Linked DNA regions of Homo sapiens: region 1 is linked to region 2. Evidence: promoter capture Hi-C in human tissues and cell types (Jung and others, 2019). All regions are on one chromosome and are shown on one strand. The core of a region is centred on a gene start or on the middle of the fragment in contact, and the rest is flanking DNA. Distances in the headings are between cores, read along the strand shown. Region 1 overlaps METTL24 (methyltransferase like 24). Region 2 holds the start of METTL24 (methyltransferase like 24).

What was found. The method cuts DNA at HindIII sites, captures the fragments that hold promoters and counts their contacts. A contact is called where the count stands out against the background at its distance.
Region 1: a fragment that was not itself captured here is called in contact with the fragment with the promoter of METTL24 in region 2 in 1 of the 25 tissues and cell types used here (dorsolateral prefrontal cortex).

Annotation. Positions count from the first base shown.
Region 1 is chr6:110,297,288-110,301,598 of GRCh38, forward strand. METTL24 (methyltransferase like 24) reads right to left here. Exons shown (of 5, transcript NM_001123364.3): 4 at 1,635-1,863. Among named protein-coding and RNA genes, the nearest start is that of METTL24, 59 kb to the right of the region's middle. The HindIII fragment of the contact is 5,139 bases long and covers 1-4,112 here.
Region 2 is chr6:110,356,969-110,361,516 of GRCh38, forward strand. It overlaps METTL24 (methyltransferase like 24), which reads right to left and starts at 1,381. Exons shown (of 5, transcript NM_001123364.3): 1 at 987-1,381. The coding sequence starts at 1,304. RefSeq lists an enhancer at 3,718-4,012. The HindIII fragment of the contact is 11,777 bases long and covers 1-4,548 here.

The DNA.
Region 1 (4,311 bases), core at 293-2,792, 60 kb before region 2:
AACACAATTCAGGTACATACCTTGTTATCTAAAATTAGATAAATTATATCCGCAGATCACTTTTTCAAAGTCTTATTTTATCCTCACCTTTACCAAATCTTTTGCTACAGTATTATTGGGGAAAAAAATAAGCAAAATGGCATTGAGTTTCTCTTTTTCTCCTACTCAGTCTTTTCTTTGAAGAGTGGTGCTGGAGAGGGCTAGGATGTAAAGAGCATAAAGCAGGAACAGCAAGACTCCTAACTGAACACAAAGAATAAGTAGTTAACTCTTTGAATAATCTAAAGTTGACATATTAGAGAATTAGGCCTGTAATTCTCAGCTGTAAAAAACAGATCTACAAAGGTAACGAGTGGCAAAAAAGAAAAAAACAAAACCCTAAATAAAGTTCTGAAAAATGCTTCTGCTTCTTCCCACACATATGAAAAACATTAACAGCATGTAAAAAGGAGTTCTCTTCTGAGATTTTACCCAAAAATCCTATATGTGTCTCACTAAGGCTCCTGACTATTAAATGCCACCAGTTACCCTTGGTGGCAAAGCAAAATACAAATTAATAGTTAATTGCGTGTTAAAAGAACAGCAAATTCTTTGAAGTTGTTCTTGAAGAAGCATGGGCTATCTAAAGGTTGTTTAAAGGATGAAGAGGAGGAGGAGGAAGAAGAAGAGGGGGAGGAGGGACAAGGAAGAGGAAGATGAAGAAAGGAGGCAGAGAAAAGGGAGGAAGAGGGGAGGAGGAGGAGGAACGGCAATGCAGGGAAAAGCTTCTTACTGAAAATCAAGAAGCCAACTCAAGTTTAAAATTGAGTCTCAGGCACACTGTTTCTCAAACAGAAACACCCATTCTGACCTGTTCTAAATCACATGGCATCTCTGGCTGGGAACACAGGCCAAAATAGCCAAACCCAAGAAAGGCTGAAGATCAAACACAAGCCAACTGCACTCAGGAGAAATTCTCTAGTATCTGCCTACAGAATACAGTTAGCTCGGGTATACTACACTAAAAATTGCTTTCAAAGAACACAGTTCAAAGATTGTTTCTTTTTTGCTGTCCATTCATAATAAAATGTTTGCAGAGATTTGACATCCTTTGGTATAATTATATAATTTGTAATGTACATGTCCATTCAATTTTATAAAGTAAATCTTAATCAAAGCTATATATATTTTCTGTGTAGAGCCTAGACGTTCAAAATAGTGAGAAACATGTCACAACAGTGAGAAACATGATACACAAGCAATATCTTAGTAAACATAACCCCGATTTTTTTTTTTGTATTTGAGGTCAACATAAGTAGTTTGCTCTTTCTGGAAAGTGTAAGTCAGTTGCCAAATGAAAATGGTATTCTTCAGCCTGTGCCAGAAGTAAGTTTCTTAGTCTTCTTGCCTAGTCTTGGACAAGACCATTAACATTACTCAACAGCAACTAAAATCTTCACATCAACTTAAATATCTCTATCCTTGCCAACACTTTATGTCTAGAGTTGACTCTATAAATAATGTTGGGTGATTAGTAAGATTAAAATCGGACCTTCAGCTATCCAATGTCAATGTTGCTATTCTTGGTTTGCATTTTAAAAAGCTGATGGGTTTGTTTACTTTATTCAAGTATAAAATCAAATGAAAAACCTCACCTTGTGATGTCCAAATTCATTCAAAATGCTTCCCAGTTTTCTGGTGTTGCTATGTGGTTTTTGGGCAGCAACAGCTGGATGGGGATCCCGCCAGTCAATGGACAAGCGGTGATACCAAAGGTGCTGACTCTCCAGAATGTGAGCTGACTTGACACTAGGATCAAAACGATGCACTTCACATCCGTTGTTGGCCATGCTAACCTCAAAATGGGTATCATCACTTCCTAGCCTATAAAGAAAGAGGACGGAAATCAACAACAAAAAATGCAATGAAGCAAAGTGTTGGACTAACAAGATGACAGTTCCAAGGCCAAGGTTCTTAGTTATATCAAGCCTTCTCCTGTTTTAACCCATGGCTAATGTACACATTCAATAAACTTTCTTTCACAAAAAAGCATTATTGCTCAAAGCTTCTGGATAAAAGATAAATTATCTGCTAGACAAAGACCAGAGAATCACATACTCAAACATGTAGGCGCATCATCAAATTGTTTTTTTTTTAAGTGATGTAAATCACAGTAGCAATGAAACAAAGAAGACTATCCAGTAGTCTTAGATTTTCTTAGAATATGTCCACAAATATAAGCCCCAGGATTAGTTCTCTTGAGGAGAGATGTGTTCTACTAATGAGGTAATTTGTCTCCATTCTAATGGCCACAGTGTTGTGTATGCAATTTGACTTAAAGACAACAGCTGTTTTCTTAGAAATGTAATATATTTTTAAATAGTGCAAATAAGAAAAAAGGCAAATGTATGTGATTCTACTGCATCCAAAACTCAAGAAGCAGACGGTTTCCTCACCTAAATTCACATCAAAAGGGGAAGAAATTATGAATTAATTGTACTTAAGTACTCAATAGGTAGCACACCATACGGAAAATAATAAACTTCCAAATATTGAATTGACTCAGAAATATTCCCTATTTAATGGTGCAAGGATCGTCACTTTGATTAAAACACCAGTTTTAATGAAAAGCATGAAATTAACTGAGAATGATTTTTTTAATGGTGATTATGGCTTTTCTGCCCCAATACTGTACTCATATGTGATTTAGGATACCAAAATCCCACAGAGTAGCTACACTACTTGGCCGAACCTAAACCCAGTGCAGAAATACTTCATTCTCATAGATTCTACAAGTATTTTGTAAGTGGATGTTTTTCAATAAATACAGTGAGCCCTCCATAGCTGTGGGTTCCACGTCCACAAATTCAACCAACATGGATCAGAAATACAGCATTGATAGGATGCAGGAGCCTACTGATATGAAGGGCGAATGTTTTGTATCTGTGAGTTCCACACCCAGACTTGATAGTTCGTGGATTTTGGTATCCGTTGGTGGGGAGAGGGTGGCCTAGAACCAACCGCCAACCCCATACGGAGGGATGACTGACTATTGCATAATCTGGAAATACACAAGTTCAGTGGATAATAATTATTTACCTTATTTTAATTAACTAAAATAAGCCTTCAGTTCAGAGATCATCCACCGAGACATGCTTTTTTTTTTTTTTTTTAGATGGAGTCTGGCTCCATCACCCAGGCCGGAGCATAGTGGCGTGATCTCAGCTCACTGCAACCTCTGCCGCCAGGGTTCAAGCAATTCTCTTGCCTCAGCCTCCCAAGTAGCTGGGATTACAGGTGTGCCCCACCATGCCTGGCTAACTTTTGTACTTTTAGTAGAGACGGGGTTTCACCATGTTGCCCAGGCTGGTCTCGAACTCCTGACCTCAGGTGATCCACCCTCGTTGGCCTCCCAAAGTACTGGGATTACAGGCATGAGCCATGGCACCCCACCTAGACATTCTTAATACAGGCAGCCCTCTGTATCCACAGATCTGATCCACAAATTCAACCAACCGCAGATTGAAAATATTCGAAAAAACAAAAATAAAAAAATAATACAACATTAAAAATAGTAAAAATAAAAATCAATACAGTATAATCACTATTACATGGCATTTACATCGTATTAGGTATTATAAGTAATCTAGAAATGATTTAAATTATGCAGGAGGATGTGCATTGGTTATATACAGATACTACACCATTTTATATCCAGGACTTGAGCATCCTAAATTTTGGTCTTTGCAGTGGTCCTGCAACCAACCTCCACAGGTGCTGAGGGGTGATTATAGTCTTATTTGCCTCTTCCTCACCCTTCACCCAACTACACTGCTCTTTTTCCGACTGCATCCCATGGTAAGTCAGCCCTCTGATGTCCCTCCGCCATAGCTTTTCCAACACTTTTTGCCTGGAGAAAATTCAGCACTCCTCTCACAAGCACTTCCATTTCTTCCACCTAACAGTTCCTATTCCCTATTTTCTACCACCTACTGAATCCACACAGCTCAGACCACTGAAGTCTCTACCCCAGTTTTCCATGATCTAATCTGGTGTGGCAGATTGACTTGTCGACTCTGCTCCTTCAACCCTGCACCATCCACACTACTCCATGCTCATGATGAGAAAGAGTCCTTCCCTGCCCCTTGACTTTTTGGCTTGGCCATGTGCCTTGCTTTATGGAAGGAAGTGGGAGTGTGCCAGTCCAGATCCTAGGCCTTCAGTGCTTCTGTTCTCTCTCTTACACTGTCATCATGATAAAAACGTGCCCTCGAGAATTTGCACTCCAGCCAGTCCACCGGCCCTCTGTAAAATACAGAACCTCCCTTAGCC
Region 2 (4,548 bases), core at 131-2,630:
ACAGCAGCGAGGCAAAGGAAGAGTTGTTCCCTCCCCTCCAGGACCGGTGATGGGAAGCGGGGTGGAGGTTGGGGTGGATGTCTAAAAGAAACGAGGAACAGCCGGGCAACGGAAAGTAGTTGCTTTGGAGAACGTGGTTGAGGCTGGAAGCAGGAGTTGATGGGTAAAAGGATGAGGAGAGCTCATACCTGTAGTTCTTTTCATTTCCATGTACGACGCAAATTACCGAGCTCCAAAAAGGAGATGAGCCCAAAACCTTAACAATCAGAGGCTAAAAATGGACTAATCAGTGAGGTGTAAGCCAAGAAGTTAATGAGGTAGGAGGCACAACACGGTCGAGAGTTATAAGACAAACCCAGGTTATTACTTGGGTCCTCGAGGATCCAATTAACTTCTCATTAAGTGGGGCTGGGTGCTCGGCTTCTCAACTGGCGCCAGCCTCCCAGCCCCCAGCCAACGCCTGGAATGAGACTCCAGGGAAATTCGGCCAGCTGGTGGATCTTCAGCGAGATGAAGGCAGTGGCGTGGACAGGCCATTCACGGCGATACCCACCCAACTCTGTCCAGGCCTTAAGCAGAAGGCTGGGAGCAGCACAGCACATCAATGGCAGCCACAACGCCTTCCTTTCCCTTTCCCTTTCCCTGCCTATCACGCAAACACTCCCCTACTAAAGTGTATCCTCCGTGAGAACAGGGCTCCGTCCTTCTTCACGGGATGCGCGGAGCCTAGAAGGGCGCCCGGCCACGGCGACCCCCAAGTACTGGCTGAATAGTGAATGAACTCCGCTTGGCCGCACTTCAGTCTATCTGGGCACTGAAAGATGCGACCCGTGGAGCCGCCTAAGAGAGCACAGGGGGAAGAGAAGAAGCGGAAGCCTCCGGAGGTCCCATCGAGGCGGCCTGCGGGACCTGAGCGCCGGGCTCCGTAGCGCGGTCGGGAGGGGGCTTCTGGTCCCAGGCCCAAGACCGACCGCTTTGCAACTGACCTTCCGGCGGGGGCGCCCGCGCGGGGCACAGCAGCCAGGCTCCGGCGTCCCGCTCCCGCCGCCCCCCGGCGGCGCCCGGCGACCGCTGCGCACGTAGGTCACCTGCCTCCTGCTGGCGCCGCGCGGCTGGCCCGGCGCGGGCGGCAGGTGCGGCCCAGGTGGCCGCCAGGCCGGGCCCGGCGGGGCGCTGCGGGTGGGGGACCCGGGCCCGGCGCGCCGCAGCTCTGCGCAGAGCCGCAGGCCGAACAACAGCACAGCCCCGAGTAGACACCGGCGCAGGACGCCGCAGCCCCTCCCGGGCGGCCTCTCCCGGGCCATGGCGCTACACTCGGGGTCCCGCGGGCCGCGCCTGGCCGGCAGCAGGGATGTAGCCCCACAGGCCGGAGCGGCCAACTGTGGGAACTCCCCCGCGGGCCGGGGTGCGGGCTCGGACCCGCCTCCCTCCCTCCCGACCGAGGAAGCCCCGGCGTAACCTTATCCTGCCCTGCCGAGCGCGCCCCGCCGCTGGAACGGTGGTGGGCCGAACGCGGTCACAGGGGGCCCTCTCCGCCCCTCCGGAGGTGCCAGGGCCCGGCTGTACAGGGTCCCTCAAGAGGTGCCCTCCGCCCCGGCCTCCAAAGCCTGACGGAGCTGAAAGACATAGGGCCAGAAAAAGCGCATTCCTAACGGGATCCCGGGCCATAACTTCATTTTCTGGTATTAGTGTTGTTGGAGAAACACAGGAGGAGGGTAGGTGAGCATACAAGGAACAGTCAAGCAGTTTGCACCATTAAGCACAATATAAAAATAAATAGCACTTATGCCCGGGCTTACAACTTCTCTCTCTCTCTCAAGAAAGAAAGGGATTGGGGGGCGAAGAGAATAGCACTCAATGCAGAATAATCAAATTAGAGTTATTCTATGTCTAAATTCTGCCTGAAGCCAATTCGTGCTTTCTTTCCGTGTTATGAAATGTGTGGGGGTGAAGAAGAAGAGGGAAAAAGCCAGCTAAGACATCTGACAGCGGGTTGGTGAGGAGGGGGGAGAGAGAACAGAAGTTACCATGGCATGATGTAAATCAAATTAATTTAGCTCCAAACACACACCTCCCTGCTGTCTCGCAGAAATACAGAGGGACAAATTTATCTTTCGGCAAAATGCTCCCCAGCTGGTATTTCCATCACCACCTTGACCTTAATTAATCAGACTGAACTCTCACAGCCTGAAGTCCAGTGGTGGATGTTCCATTTTCAATTGTTAGTAGAATCCTTTCCCACAACCCATTTGGGGTGGGTTTGGGTTTTAGGTTTGAGTTTGGGTTTAGATTTTTTTAAGCTGTAGTCACTTTTCTTTTTTTCCTTGCTTTACTCTTGCATTTTCCATGCTTCCATGGGAGACTGCGCCTGTAGACCTATCCTCTTCCCCCGTAACAGCCTACAGCATGGACAAGAGAGAACAAATATGGGGCCCTACCCCCCTGCCCTTTTGAATGTTGGGTATTTTCCGTAGGAAGCCCTCGTCTCTAAAATCCTCTTCTCTTCCTGGCTTAAGAAAGACCCAATTTATTCCCTGCTAGTGAACAAAGCACTTGGGCTGTTTCTCTACATGTAACAAAATATCTCCACCCAGTCTAGTCCACCCCCTGGCCACACCAGATCCTCAGGCTCCTGAACGTTCCATTAGGATTGACTTTTGCTTTTTTCTTAGATGAGTCCAGGGGATATTGCAGATGGGTTCTATTTTAACAAATTTAAACAAGTACGAGTTTTTCCTTACACAAACTGAGAGCCAGCCTCACATCCTGTGACTATTTACTTGAACTGTGTTTGAACCAGGACCCTGCCGTTCAAGCACTATGAGACTTTCAACGAAGTACTGGACCTCTCTGAGTTTCCGTTTTCCCATGAATAAACAGATCTATATATATGGCAGGATTATAAATGTTGCATAAAATATTATATGTTTCATGCCCAAATAATACTGGCTCACAGAAGGGTCTCAATAGTAATTATTTTGTTATTTACCATGGAAGAAAATCCTGGATGTTGTCATGAAAAACAAAAGGTAAGCATTGATTCCAAAGTGGGCAAAGATAAAGTATAAGGAAATTTACAAATAATTTATACAGCATTCTCTGGAATTCAGAGTACCCAATAATTTCAAGAAAATAACAATTAATCATCAAGAAACGAACTCTGTTAAGTTGTATAAGGCTCTTTAAGACAGAGTTTGTAGGGTGCTTGATAAACCTGGATTGGTAATGTCTGATGTAGACTTTGCTGGAAGTTTTATTTTCTATGCAGTCAACACAGTGCCGCTAACTAGAGAAGTCATATTTTGAAGATCATGGTGCCACTAGTGCGTACCCTCTGCTCCTCTGTTGAGTTTCTCTCTGGGGGTGGGTGGGGAAGCATAAGCACTCTCCTATATTATTAAAATGGGGATATTTAATAAGACTCTGGGCTGGGGGTGGAGGATGGAGTGGGGGTGCATACAAAACAGTGTAGCTCTTGAAGAGAATGGGCAGGATGACCTCATATTTTCCTTTATCTCATTTCTACAGTTCTCTAATAAAATGTTTTCATTATGGAAAAAAATTCAAATTACATGGAATATTTAAATAGCCTTTTATCTTTTGCAGTTGTGTTTATGTCTATGTGTTTATTACTAATAAAAAAGAACCGTTTATATGTATGTAGCATCAATTTTCTGGAAGAAACCTATTTTTAACTTCCACACAGTGTTTTCCTGTGTGGTGGATGATAATGAATAGTAAAATGGGTCAGTCTGTGGGCTGAAGAGGCAAATCTAATGGATCACTGTTGTAGCTGACAAGCAATCTTTCATTCACGACCTTTGCTTTTCTTATAGAGTTGAACTTGTCTCAGTCCTTTCTGGATGTGTCTCAAAAATGCAGATAATCATTAACCGCTGTGTCATAGGCTGGTTAATTAAACAAGCAGGTCAGTAAACCACAATAGCGGCTTTCATCAGATCACAGATTACATCCTCCTAGAGGTTTTAGCCAGAAAAATGTGTGAAACAGAACATTTCTAATCTCCTAAACAACATGCATTTCAACTTGGACACCTGCTGTAGTGCTGTGATTCTCAACCAGGGTTGGTTTTGCCTCCCAGGGGACATTTGGCAATGTCTGAAGATGTTTTTGGTTGTTACCACTGGAGGATGCTACTGGCGTCTAATGGCTACCTATTAGACTAGGGATGCAGCTAAGCCTCCTCCAGTGCAAAAGATAGCCTTCCACAACAAAGACTTGTCCAGCCCAGAATGTCAGGAGAGCCTAAGTTGAGAAAACCTGCTGTAACTATAGATGCCAATGTGGTCATTTTAAATTATAGACTGTCCAAAGAGAAAACAGAGCCGATAGTATCCTCACCTTCATCAAGTGGTTATTTATATCTCACAATGTGACATACCCAGTGTGTTAGTCCTTTTTTGTGTCACTATAAAGAAATACCTGAGGCTAAGTAATGTATAACAAAAAGAGGTTTAATTGGCTCTTGGTTCTGCATGCTGTACATGAAGCATAGTGCCAGCATCTGCTTTTGGTGAGGCCTCAGGA